Linked DNA regions of Homo sapiens: all the other regions are linked to region 1. The links are contacts of gene promoters, found by promoter capture Hi-C in human tissues and cell types (Jung and others, 2019). All regions are on one chromosome and are shown on one strand. The core of a region is centred on a gene start or on the middle of the fragment in contact, and the rest is flanking DNA. Distances in the headings are between cores, read along the strand shown.

What was found. The method cuts DNA at HindIII sites, captures the fragments that hold promoters and counts their contacts. A contact is called where the count stands out against the background at its distance.
Region 2: a fragment that was not itself captured here is called in contact with the fragment with the promoter of NDFIP2 in region 1 in 1 of the 25 tissues and cell types used here (dorsolateral prefrontal cortex).
Region 3: a contact is called between a fragment that was not itself captured here and the fragment with the promoter of NDFIP2 in region 1, in 1 of the 25 tissues and cell types used here (mesendoderm cells).

What each region holds. Positions count from the first base shown.
Region 1 is chr13:79,478,589-79,483,042 of GRCh38, reverse strand. NDFIP2 (Nedd4 family interacting protein 2) reads right to left here and starts at 1,888. Exons shown (of 8, transcript NM_019080.3): 1 at 1,519-1,888. The coding sequence starts at 1,839. NDFIP2-AS1 (NDFIP2 antisense RNA 1) reads left to right here and starts at 1,812. Exons shown (of 3, transcript NR_046685.1): 1 at 1,812-1,891; 2 at 3,113-3,207. The HindIII fragment of the contact is 15,126 bases long and covers 1-4,454 here.
Region 2 is chr13:80,346,983-80,351,436 of GRCh38, reverse strand. No RefSeq gene overlaps it. Among named protein-coding and RNA genes, the nearest start is that of SPRY2, 8.1 kb to the right of the region's middle. The HindIII fragment of the contact is 4,436 bases long and covers 115-4,454 here.
Region 3 is chr13:80,147,358-80,151,811 of GRCh38, reverse strand. The region is part of intron 2 of LOC105370275 (a long non-coding RNA gene); the gene reads left to right. Among named protein-coding and RNA genes, the nearest start is that of LINC01080, 140 kb to the right of the region's middle. RefSeq lists a silencer at 4,192-4,295. The HindIII fragment of the contact is 4,552 bases long and covers 218-4,454 here.

The DNA.
Region 1 (4,454 bases), core at 639-3,138:
CTGAGAGCTACATAAATTAACAGTGTTTTGGGTAGTGACGTCTGTAGGAAAAATGAAACAAGTTTCACTGCTGATATTATTCAATATTTATATCATTTTATTTTTGCTAACATTTACAAACCTAGAAATGCCTTTCAAACCATCAAAAGGGTGTACACTGACAACTTGAAAAACGCTTTCCATACTGGGAGAAACAGTATTTCCCAAGTTGTTGAGAAAAGCTGATAAATTTTCAAAGAATTCGGAATATGGACCTTTTGTAGGTTTTAAGGAATGCAAACCAATTGAAAATGGAAGCCTCATGAGCTTTTATCTTAGAAAAATGCAAAATTACATACTTTAGGATCTCATCTTACAGTTCCTTCATATTTGCCAAAATGTACTTATTAATAGAAAGTCTTGGCTTATAACCTGTCTTACATGTGCAAATAGATTTGAAAGTTGAAACCTGGGACTAACATACCTAAATTTGTAAAATTTTATAAACCATAAACTGCATCACCAGTGCTATGTATTGTTTTTCTCCTCTCCCTCAGTAAATGGGCTGAAAGTTTGTAGAATGACATGCTACCTAGCTGCAACAGCACAACAGCAGAGTCAACTATTGCTCAGTCCATCTTTAACTAAGGTTTACAACAGGAATCTCCAACGTCACCACCAGAATACACAAAGAAAAATATATTTAAAAATTGACACTGAAAATATAGAGGAACACATTTCACTTTTTTCAACATAGTTACCAAAGTTTACACAGTTAAGCTGGAAAACCTTGTATTTAACGAAAAATAATTTTTCAAACAAGATTAGAATTTGTTCTACTAAAACTACCTCTGTTTCCCCTCTAACCAAAAAAAAAAAAAAAAAAAAAAAAAAGAAAGAAAGAAAGAAAGAAAAAGTGGGGATTACCAAAAAATACAGTCATTTTTAATACTAACATAATGGAAAAGGACAAAATGACAAGGTTAACGAGCAGAGAGACAAGATCAGCATTATGGCTAGTCTTTCTCTACAGTTCCACAATTCCTAACCCACATTTTTGCCAAATCCACATCCCACCCCACGCAGTACTTACACCTCCACCCACCTACTCACCCACCCCATTTATGACGGCGATCACCTTCCGGGCAGGTATGTGAAGTCAGCCCCATTTCCAGTAGACAATCGACTAGAATGTCTCAGGAGTGACTGAGTCAGAGAATAAGAAAATGATAAAGTGAGAAATTAAAACGGATACAAGTTGTAAGGTGTGTGGAGGGAGGGCGTCTCACAGCGGGGCTAAGGGTGCGGGTGAGGAGCTAAGCAGACTTGGGGCGAGAGAGAAGGGTTTCGAAGGAGTCCTAGGCAGGAGTGCGCAGGTGAGGCGAGTGAAGCAGCTCCAGCCAGAAGATCCAAAAAAACAAAACAAAACACAACAAAAAAAAGCCACAGCTTTTCCTCCGGGAATAACCTGAGGAAAGGGACTCTCGGGACGCCGCGGCGGGAGGCAGTCCCGGGAGGCACAGGAGGCCGGGAACTCACCACCTGGTAGCGCCCAGTCCCCGGCTGGTGGTGATCCATCCTGCCCGGCTCGGGATCCGGCTTCCGAGAGAGGGAGTCTTCTCCGTGCTCAGCTCCCACGGCCACCCCCGTCGACGACGTCGTCGCCGCAGGGCCCCTTCCGCCTCCGTTCCTGCAGCCGCGGTCTCCCGGCGGAAGCTCTTCACTTCCTGTGGCTCCCGCAGCGGCCGCCGAGACCTCCGCGTTGGTCGCGGTTCCGCGGAGAAGCTCCGGGGCGCCGCGCGCGCTATTGAGCATGCTCGGACCGCTCGCGCAGACTCGCTGGCTCCGCCGGCGTGCCATCCGCGCCGCCAGTGGGAGGGTATAGCTGGGTGGGAGGAGATGGAAAAGTAAGGCAAGTCCGGGGGAGCTGTCTAGGTTGTCAACCTGTCGAGTGGGCGGTCGCAAAAGGCGCGCGGGGGGCGGGAATGACCCGTCCTTGATTGGTCTTTTCTGTGTGCGCGAGTTTCGCGCAGGCACGAGCCAGTGCGCCTTCTCACCACACAGAGACAGAGGCTGACAAGGGATGGGGCCGCGTTCCTAGAACACCTGAGGACAGGTCGCCCGGGTACCCGACACTTCCTCACCCAGCGTAGGACATGGGGAGGAGATTCATCTCTAGAACATTCCCAAAACGCTTATTCAAAATCATTCGTAAGATAAGCGATTTTTTAAAGACTAATATAGAGTAGTTAGAGTTTACAGAAAAATTGAGAAGTTACAGAGATATCCCATATACACTTGGCTCCTACGCATGCATAACCCCCCACCATTATCAACATCCCCCCTCAGAGTGGTACATGTGTTACGACTGATGAACCTGCATTGACACCTCATCATCACTCAAAGTCCATAGTTACCTCAGGGTTCACTCAGGTTGTTGTATACTCCTCGAGTTAGAACAAATGTGTAATGGCAGGTATCCATCATTATAGTATCCTACAGAGTATTTCCACTGCCCTGAAATTCTTCTGTGGGGTAATTTTTGTTTTTGTTTGTTGTTTTTTTAGAGATGGGGTCTCACTATATTGCCCAGACTGGAGTGCAGTGGCTGTTAGCAGGCGCAGTCATGGCTCACTGTAGCCTCGAACTCCTCGGCCCAAGCTATCCACCTGCCTCAGCCTCTGGAGTAGCTGAGACTACAGGCACTAGCTCTTTGGTTACTTTTTAAACTCTTTTTTCCACTTTTTGGTAATAAGAGATTTAAAAATCCAACGGACTCTCCAGACAACTCTCAAAGAAAGAGGTCTCTAGAGTTCTAGGTTACTGGAAGGACGTTAGAAGAAAGTAATGAAATCAGATAGGATTATTTTGTGGTAATACTCAATAATTCCAATTGATTTAACAGCAAGGAATCACTTGGGAGCACTGTTAGTAGTATCTCACTGTCTGGTTAACCACACATGACACGGCATAAAGCATATTTCTCTAGCAAGTAGAAGAGTATGACAGAGCAGCGAAAAGTACCTTTTAACCTGAAGACCAACGTTCTATACCCTAAAAACTATGATGCTGCTTGATGTGGCCCAGCTATGTTTTTAACATAACACCACATTTTCCCTAAATGATCTTACAGTGGAGCGCCCTGAAGGGAAGGAAAGGGATCTGGAGCCCCATTTATTTCCTTCATGAATGTCCAGAGGAGATCCTTGAAATGAAGACTGCCACTGGGTGAGCCTAATCAACTGGTTAAAATAGCAAGATAGAATAAAAACAGAAACTCTTTGAGAGATTGACAACTAAAAAATGTAAGCCTTCCTCATAGTTCTTTTTAAAGCATTCATCAACTCTTCCTATTTGTGCCGTTTTGACATGTCTAATAGCATAAAGCATTACTGTGCTAACAATAAGAGGCAGTGATATCTCATACTTAAATATTGTTAAACTTGCCTTGTTTTGATCTTAATGTATTTTAGTTTCTAAGCCAATAAACATATGCCATTTTATTGGTATTACTGGTACAAACGCTCACTCTCACAATTTCACTCCAAATGGTATTGCCTCTCGATGACCAAAACAACAGCCAGTATCAGCAAACTGAAATTAGATCCTTATATCACTTACGATCTATAAGATTTATTTAGAACTTAATTTTATATGCATATGTGTTTTCATTAATCATTCATGTGTTCATCTGTTTCTCAAATAGATGGCTGCTCAGGGCAGAGACCATTTCTTACACCCAATGCAGCACTGAGAACATAAAAGTAAAAATCAAAGATCTGACCAAAAGCAGACATCTTGAATCCTGATAGAGTAACAGATTCTTTCTATTTTACCCTCCTCCCAGATTCTCTGAACATTTTGCTAATCTAGTGGAGTAACAAATTCAGCAGGAAAGCGTATTTGTAATGAGGAAGAGAAAGAGGGGAAGGAGAAGTAGAACAACAGCTTACTAGTATAGAGCCCTTTCTAAGCCAGTACTATACATCTATTATTTTAGCCTCACCAGAACTTCATGATATAGGCACAGTTGCACTCCTTGGTTAACAGATGAGGGGGGAAAATAAGGCACAAGGAGTTTCATGAACTTGGCTAATGCCAAATCACTAGTAGGTGATGACAGACATCAGAGCCTCCACCATATTAAGCACTATATTAAGCATAATGCACCTAATAAAGAAGAGTCCTTGTCTCTTTCCTCTTCCTAGCCACCACTACTGTGAAACGTGCAGAAGACATAAAAAGATAGCAATGTATCACAAAGAGCCAATCTGACTTCTTTAAATCCCACCTTCTTGATCTATGTAAAATAATAATTCTTATTCATCATCCCCAAAAGAGCCATTCTGAGCTTCTTTTGCCCACTTTACAACTAAGCCCATGTGACCTGTAATGGACCATTACAAGCAGAGGCACTGAGTTGTCCCACTAGGAGAAACTTACTTGAGATGCAGTGGGAATAACAATATTCTTTA
Region 2 (4,454 bases), core at 1,083-3,582, 870 kb before region 1:
GGTCATTAGAGAAATGCAGATCAAAACCACAATGAGATACTATCTCACAACAGTTAGAATGGAGATCATTAAAAAGTCAGGAAACAACAGATGCTGGAGAGGATGTGGGGAAATAGGAATACTTTTACACTCTTGGTGGGAGTGTAAATTAGTTCAACCATTGTGGAAGACAGTGTGGTGATTCCTCAAGGATCTGGAACCAGAAATACCATTTGACCCAGGAATCCCATTACTGGGTATATACCCAAAGGATTATAAATCATTCTACTATAAAGACACATGCACAGGTATGTTTATTGTAGCACTATTTACAACAGCAAAGACTTGGAACCAACCCAAATGCCCAGCAATGATAGACTGGATAAAGAAAATGTGGCACATATACACCACGGAATACTATGCAGCCATAAAAAAGAATGAGTTCATGTCCTTTGCAGGCACATGGATCAATCTGGAAATCATCATTCTCAGCAAACTAACACAGGAACAGAAAACCAAACACCACATATTCTCAATCATAAGTTGGAGTTGAACAATGAGAACACATGGACACAGGGAGGGGAACACCACACCGGGGCCTGTCGGGGGATGGGGGACAAGGGGAGGGAGAGCATCAGGACAAATATGTAATGCATGCAGGGCTTAAAACCTAGATGATGGGTTGATGGGTGCAGCTAACCACCATGGCACATGTACACCTATGTAAAAACCTGCACGTTCTGCACATGTCTCCCAGAACTTAAGGTATAATAAAAAAGAATAATTAAAAAAAAAAAACAGAATCGTTTGTCTACTGCCACAATCCCTGGCCCTGCCTGGTGTTGAAATGCCGTGATGATGTCTCAGACTTATAGGACTCTTTCTTGGAACTCAAGTATTTCATCTTCTGCCTAGAACTGAATTCCATTGTAAGGTTATTGTACTTGCTACAAACCTAAGAGTCTTTTTCACTCACACCCTCAGTATATATGTAGAGAATTTTAGCTTCCTAATAAACCATTTAAAATTAGTGCTGGGATTACAAGTGTGAGCCACCACACCCGGCCAGTGATTTTTATTCTAACTCCTATACAAATTCACATTTACAGGATCATAGTAGCCTAAAGAATTCAAAACAGTGAAATACCACTGCATTCTACTGTACAACAAATACCTATGCCATTACATAATTTATTATAGGTGAATGTACCTGTTCCTCCTAATGGGGGATGGAGCTTCTAAACCATTTCAGATACAGGGCTACATTCCAAAAATATATACTTCAATCCAGTGTTGGATAAGAGCCTAAATGTTGGATAATATCCTAAATGTTCCCTCAAATAAGAGGGAATTTACATTCTCAAGCCTCCAGATTTCCTGAACAAATAATTCAATGAGTAGATATTCTAGTTAGAAACAACCATATCGGCTAAACAGGTCCCTTCTTCCCTAAAATGTTTTATGTACTTTGAAGAAGTCATACATGAAAGAAAAGTCAATGTATGGTTAAGATTTAATGTAAGAAACACTGTCTATTACTAGGTAAATATAGCTAAATACAGTTAAAACTTATTCTAAATCTCTAAATTATTATTCCTGTGTTTATGCAAACATAAAATAAATCAAATTCTACTAAGTTTAAAGCTTTTTGAAAGGATGGAAGCAAAACAGCTAATTTTACTAAATAAACTATCAAGCCCCATTTAACTGAAGTTATTGCAGCTACTTATTGAGAACTTCCCACATGCTAGGCTGGGTAGATACTTTATGTCATCCAATCTTCCAAGTGACCCCATGCCCCTCTTTTACAGGTGGGGACTAAGGTTAATTATTTCAGTCATTTATTCATTCATCCTTTTTTTTTTTTTTTTTTTTTTTTTTTGAGACGGAGTCTCGCTCTGTCCCCAGGCTGGAGTGCAGTGGCGCGATCTCAGCTCACTGCAAGTTCCGCCTCCCAGGTGCATGCTATTCTCCTGCCTCAGCCTCCAGAGTAGCTGGGACTACAGGCGCCTGCCACCACGCCCAGATAATTTTTTGTATTTTTAGTAGAGACGGGGTTTCACCATGTTAGCCAGGATGGTCTCAATCTCCTGACCTCGTGATTCGCCCGCCTCGGCCTCCCAAAGTGCTGGGATTACAGGCGTGAGCCACCGCGCCTGGCTCATTCATCCTATTGAAAACTAATGTTTGAGCTCCCTGTATGTATTAGGCCCTTCGGTTCTGGAAATACAATGGTGGGCAAAACCAGACTTGGATTCCAGCCCTCATGGACCTTAAAATACAGTGAAAGAGACAGTTATTAATGAAACAATCACAATTACATGTATAGTTGCACCGGAGAAGGTCATGAGAAAAAAAGGTGGGATTTCACCTAGTCAGAGAAGTCAGAAAAAGCTTTCCTGAGAATATGACAACAGAGATTTGAAAGATAAGTAGGCCATCGTGGGCAACATTGTGAGAACTGTCTCTACAAAAAAAAAAAAGTTAATTAGCCAGGCATGGCGGTGGTGCATGCCTGTGGTCTCAGCTATTCAGGAGTCTGAATTAGGAGGACTGCTTGAGCCCAGAAGTTCAAGGCTGCAGTGAGCCAGGATAGGACTACTGCATTCCGGCCTGGGTGACATAGCAAGACGCGTCTAAAAAAAAAGAAAGAAAGAGAATGAAAAGAGAAAGATAAATAAGAGTTAATAAAGCAAATAAGGTTAATAAGAAAAGTGCATCAGGGAATAGCATGTAATAAGGCCCTGTTGCAGGAGAGAGGTGCTTCTGAGCAACTAAAAAGTAGCCTTCATAACTGCAGGGTAGAAAGCAAGAGAGTGTGTAAAAACAGAAAGAAAAGAGAAGAGAAGAGAACTGGTGTAACAGGAGTCTGGTGAGGGAAAACAGCCAGACCAGAGTAGGACCTTGAAGTTGTTTGAAAGACTTGGATCTTTACCCAGAAAGTAATGTGAAGCCAGGGGAGAATCTAAGCAACAGGCAATTGTGATCAGATTCACCCAAAGTGGTCTAGATTGCATCCAAATCCAGCTCTCTTGAACTACCAAAGTCTCTGGAACCTATTATGATATCAAAAGTTCAATCTTGAGCATCTTTTTCTATTAGCAACTACAGTTTAAAAAAAGAAAATAATGATTTTGAAAATCTAATTTCTTTTTCTTTTTCTTTTTCTTTCTTTTTTTTTTTTTTTTGAGACAGAGTGTCTCTCTGTCGCCTAGGCTGGAGTACAGTGGCACGATCTCGGCTCAATGCAACCTCTGCCTCCTGCATTCAAGCAATTCTGCCTCAGCCTCCCAAGTGCCTGGGACTGCAGATGTGTACCACCACGCCTGGCTAATTTTTGCATTTTTAGTAGAGACGGGGTTTCACCATGTTGGCCAGGCTGGTCTTGAACTCCTGACCTCAGGTGATCCATCCTCCTCAGCCTCCCAAAGTGCTGGGATTACGGGCATGAAGCACTGTGCCCAGACTGAAGATCTAATTTTTAATTTTGCTCATATATTTATTTTAACACATGTTAGGATATAATGCAAGAAGGTCTCTGTGGTGTAAAATGAGGGTGAGAAGAATACTTACCAAAAGTGCAAGGGGATTTCTCACATACAACATGAACGGCAAACTGTCCACTAATTGACGGCTTCCTTGAGCTATTTTTAAAATGTGTTCTTGAAAGTTAACAGACTGCTAACTTCTTATTTGAAATTACAGTTTAACACTTAATTTTAATTATTAATATAGTCATATCTTTCAAAGTAAAAAGTTTACTTTTACCTACATTCTTTACCCACCCATCATCATCCTCTTTGTCATTTCTTTGTTATATAGTTTAAAACTAGATGTTCCCTACAGCTTTATTTCCAGTTACCTCACATTTCCATAAAGATTTATTTGTAATTTAATAAGTATTTAATATTTCACCTATTAAAAGTCATAGCCCTGGCCAGGCGCAGTGGCTCATGCCTGTAATCCCAGCACTTTGGGAGGCCAAGGTGGGTGGATCACTTGAGGTCAAGAGTTCAAGACCAGCCTGGCCAACATAGTGAAACCCACCTCTAGAAAAAATACAAAAATTAGCCGGACATGGTGACAGGCTAATAGGTAGCCTGTAGTCCCAGCTACTCAGGAGGCTGAGGCAAGAGAATCACTTGAACCCAGGAAGCAGAGGTTGCAGTGAGCTATGATTGTGCCACTGTAATCTAGCCTGGGCGACAAAGCAAGACTCTGTCTCAAAAAACAAAACAAAACCAAATAATCATAGCCTTAACAAACTTGTTTCAGTCACTTCCTAGTAATTATGCAAAACACAATGGTAATTTCTAGAACAGCAGAATGACTTAACTTCTGCCATTAAAGAATTCAAAAACTGTGAATTTCCTTTTACAAAATTAAGACTTTAAAATATTATCTTATTTTAATCATACTTTTTTTTTCTTTTTTTTTTTTTAGATGGAATTTCACTCTTGTTTCCCAGGCTGGAG
Region 3 (4,454 bases), core at 1,244-3,743, 670 kb before region 1:
TAGAAATGGCCATATGACTAAGTTCTGGACAATGCTTTGTAAATAAAATTAATGGGTATCATTTGTGAGATTTGTCCTTAAAATAACTGTTTGTGTACTTCTCTGGTTTCTTCTCCTTTTCCAGATGCTTAGAATGAGACTGAAATGCCATCTTAGGTCTACAAGTAGGGGCCATAAGTTAAAGAAGGCAGAGATGCCACTAGCCTTAGAGTGTCCACTTAACTCTAGACTTTTATACCACTGCACTTTGAGGTTTTCAATTATAGCACCTTAGCCTGTACCCTACCCACTCCCTTTCTTTCTTAAAACAAAATGAAACAAAAATAAATTTTGTTCAGGATAATTACATACTCAATGAAAATTTATTATCTCCTCAGACCCTTTTGCCATATCAGGTGGCCATAGGATCCATTTCAGGCCATGAGATATGACTGGAATATTCCTAGGAGGACCTTCCAAGAAATCTATCATTTTCATAATTAAAAAAAATAGACTGGACTGGTGTAAGTCATTTTGTTTCTTTTTTTTTTCTGCCTAGGAACCATTTATGATGTCATTGCTAAGTTATGCCTTCCCTATTGAAAATCTACACCTCACAATGACTAAAATACTATCAGATTTTGTTTCTACCTAGGACATTCCAAGTCATCAATCTAATGAATGGTACACATTGAGCTACAGCATTGATTTATATGTTTGAATTAGACAAGGCTTTACTCCATAGAACAGCCCTGGACTGACTACCTTAGGATTTCTAAATACCCAAGGAAACAAACAAAACAAAACAAAACAAAACAAAACCATCTTTTATTTTTTATACTCTGCTATATTCCCACTGTCTGGCTTATATAATAAATGTTCAAGAAAATCTGCTGAATAAGTAAATAAATTAATACCATTATAGACTATTTTAACTTTTCAACTCCTTGGGAGGAGTTAATTAGTATAAATTAACATAGCTGGGAATTGTTTTATGATTGACAGACCAAATCCTTTAACATTCATTCTATGATATAATTGAAATACATTTGGAGTTCCTATATGAAAACATTCTGCTACGCACTACGAGACACAGAAGTAAATACATAGGCAAGCATAGGCTCTATTGAGGTTAGAATTAAATAAAAAATTTGTGTGATGCTTTAATGTAATATCTGCTTTATTTTAGTGGACTGGAAAGAAACTTTGAATATCTCTGTGTTATGCCTGTAGTTCTCTGATGGCTATTTGGGTGAAAGAAACCATATACGAATTATCTAAGTTTTAAGATATATTCGTTGATATTACAGAAAGATGAAGATTACCAAGCATTTGTTGAGTTTCTGTTTCACTGGTGCAGTTGGTACCAGGCAGAAGGCTTAGTTGTACAGTCAGTGAGAGGGATTTTTTCTCCTGCCTTGCATTTCACTACCACCGATGAAGGGTATTGCTGATATTAAATATTCAGACAGATCTAATCCAATCACCACTGAAGAACTTTACTAGCAGATAGAGAGCAGTTTACAAGATATTTAAGAATCCAGTAATATGGTTTCTCAAAAAACTACCACACAAATAGTTGTTAGCAGAAAACTGAATACAAAGAATAATTCCAGGAATCGTGGAGGCTGAAAGATATAATTTAAGCCTTAAACTGAAATACATCATTTATTAGACCTCATTCTTTGATCTTTAAACCCAAAACTCTGCGTTCATTGAGATATTCCAGGAATATCTTAACCACAAATTCAAAAGTGTTTTGTCAATATTTTATCATTACAGTTCATAAGAGCCCTTTTGTGGAAAGGAACAAGATTTGTAATCATCCCTATTTGGCAGTTGTGGCAACACCAAGGGAAAGTCATAGGGAGCTGGCCTTGGTCTCTAGGATACAACAGTTGTATTTACTCTAATTGTAGCTGCCCAATCTGAGAAGTTTGCATCAAACTGATGAGCGCTTTCTTCTCAGCATACTAAGCAGTATGCTGAGTTTTAATAGGATCTGGATCGGGTCTAGTGAATACATGGCATTGCAGATGGACTCTGGAGAGCTTGTGATTAGAAAAGTTCTCTGAAATTCCTGTCGCCTGTAACAGAAAGATGGTGAGAATAGAAACCTATGGACATTGAAAAAAAAAAAAAAAAAAAGAAAAAACCTTCTAACTAACTATCCTTTAAGGCCAACCCAAACCACCTCCTCTATGGAGCCTTGCCACATTCCCTCAATCATTTATAATCCACCCTTCCTTTTACTCTCTATAGCATTTGGTTTAGTTTTGGATTTTTTTTTCAAATCCCTTCCTTTAAAACATTATTTTGTTTTAATGGACTTATGGTGACTTATGTAAACATTTTCATTTCTTATACAATAGTCATTTTAATTCTAACCTCAATAGAGCCTATGCTTGCCTACGTATTTACTTCTCTCTCTGTCTTTTGTAGTGCTTAGTAGAATGTTTTCAGATAGGAACTCCAAATGTATTTCAATTATATCATAGAATGAATACTTTGTTTTATATGTAAATAGATGTGCTATCATTCAGGTTTTGTTATTCCATTTATAAAGCACAGAGTAGAGGTAGTGTAGTTCTTAAGGGTCCTAGGATTTTCAGAATATTAAATGAGCATTGGCTTCAACTTAAAGTCACTAGCTGTATTAGCCCCTAACAAGAAAATTGGTCTGACCTTTGAAGCTTTGAAGTCAGCCATTGTCTTCTCCTCTCTAGCTACAAAGTCCTAGATGGCATCTTTACCAATATAAGGCTGCTTCATCTTCATTGAAAATCTGTTGTTTAGTGTAGCCACCTTAATCAATGATCTTAGCTAGATCTGTTGGGTAACTTGCTGCAGCTTCTTTGTCAGCTTTGAATTGAAGAGAATTAGGGCCTTGCTCTGGAGTAGGCTTTGACTTAAGGGATGTTGTGGCTCCTTTCATCTATGCAGACCACTATAATTTTCTCCATACAAGTTGAGTATCCCTTATTTGGAATCCATGGGATCAGAAGTATTTTGGATTTCAGAGTTTTTCAGATTTTGGAATATTTGCATCATACTTATTGGTTGAACATCCCAAATTCAAAAATCTGAGATCTCAAATGCTCCAGTGAGCACTTCCTTTGAGCATCATGTTGGCACTCAAAAATTTTCAGATTTTAGAACATTTCACATTTTGAATGTTTGGATTTGAGATGCTCAACCTCTGTCAGCAATAAGACTATTTCACTCTCTTATCTTTAATGTGTTCACTGGAGTAGAACTTTTAATTTCCTTCAAGAACTTTGCCTTTGGCTTCACAACTTGGCTAACTGTTTGGTGCAAGAGCGCTAGCTTTCAATGTAGCTCAGCTTTCGACATGCCTTCCTCACTAAGCTTAATCATTTCTAGCTTTTGATTTAAGCTGAGAAATGCACAACTCTTCCTTTCACTTGAACACTTAGAGGTCATTAAGGGTTATTAATTGGACTGATTTTAATATTGTTGTTGTTTCAGGGATTAGGGAGGCCCAAGCAGAGGGAGAGAGATGAGGAAATGCCTACTTGGTGGAATAGTCAGCACACACACATTTATCGATTAAGCTTGCCATCTTCTATGGGTATGAGTCATGACACCCCAAAACAATTACAACAGTAACACCAAACATCACTGATCACAGATTACCGTAACAGATATAAAAATAATGACAACATTGGGAATATTGTGCGACTTACCAAAATGTGAGGCAGAGACACAAGGTGAACATGTGCATGTGGAAAAATGGCATCAATACACTTGCTCAATCCAGGACTGCCACCAATCCTCATTTGTAAAAAAATATCTGTGAAGTGCAATAAAACCAGGTATGCCTGCACATATGCTCAGATAGTTTAGACAAAGCCATGTGTCTGTTCAACCATGATTAAATGTCTAATAGGTTTTTGAAGCATTGTTCTGGCCTGGCTGTTTAATGAAGAAGAAGACTTGGTCTCTGTCCTCAAAAGAGTGTATAGTTTAGTGGAGGGAAAAAGAAAAGGGACATCACAATACATGAGATTAGAGGTAGGAATCAGCAGAGTGGTAGCACAGTCATTTAATCTCTGGAGTCGCAGAAAGATAAATTCTGCCTCATCTCACTTATAGCTGTATGTGTAATATACAAAAGTCAAACTTATAGGAACAGAAGTAGAAGGCAGTTACCAGAGGCTGCGGGTTGGGAGGAAGAGGGATGTTGGTTGAAAGACACAAAATTTAGTTAGGTGGAATAATTTCAAGAGATCGAGTATATGTTGATATGGTTTGGCTCTGTGTCCCCACCCAAATCTCATCTCAAACTGTAATCCCCATGTGTCAAGGGAGGGATCTGTAATCCCCCTGTGTCAAGTGTAGGAGGTGACTGGATCATGAGGGCGGTTTCCCCCATGCTATTCTAGTACTAGTGAGTGAGTTCTCACAGGATCCGATGGTTTTATAAGGCAGTTTTCCCTGCTCCTTCATTCTAC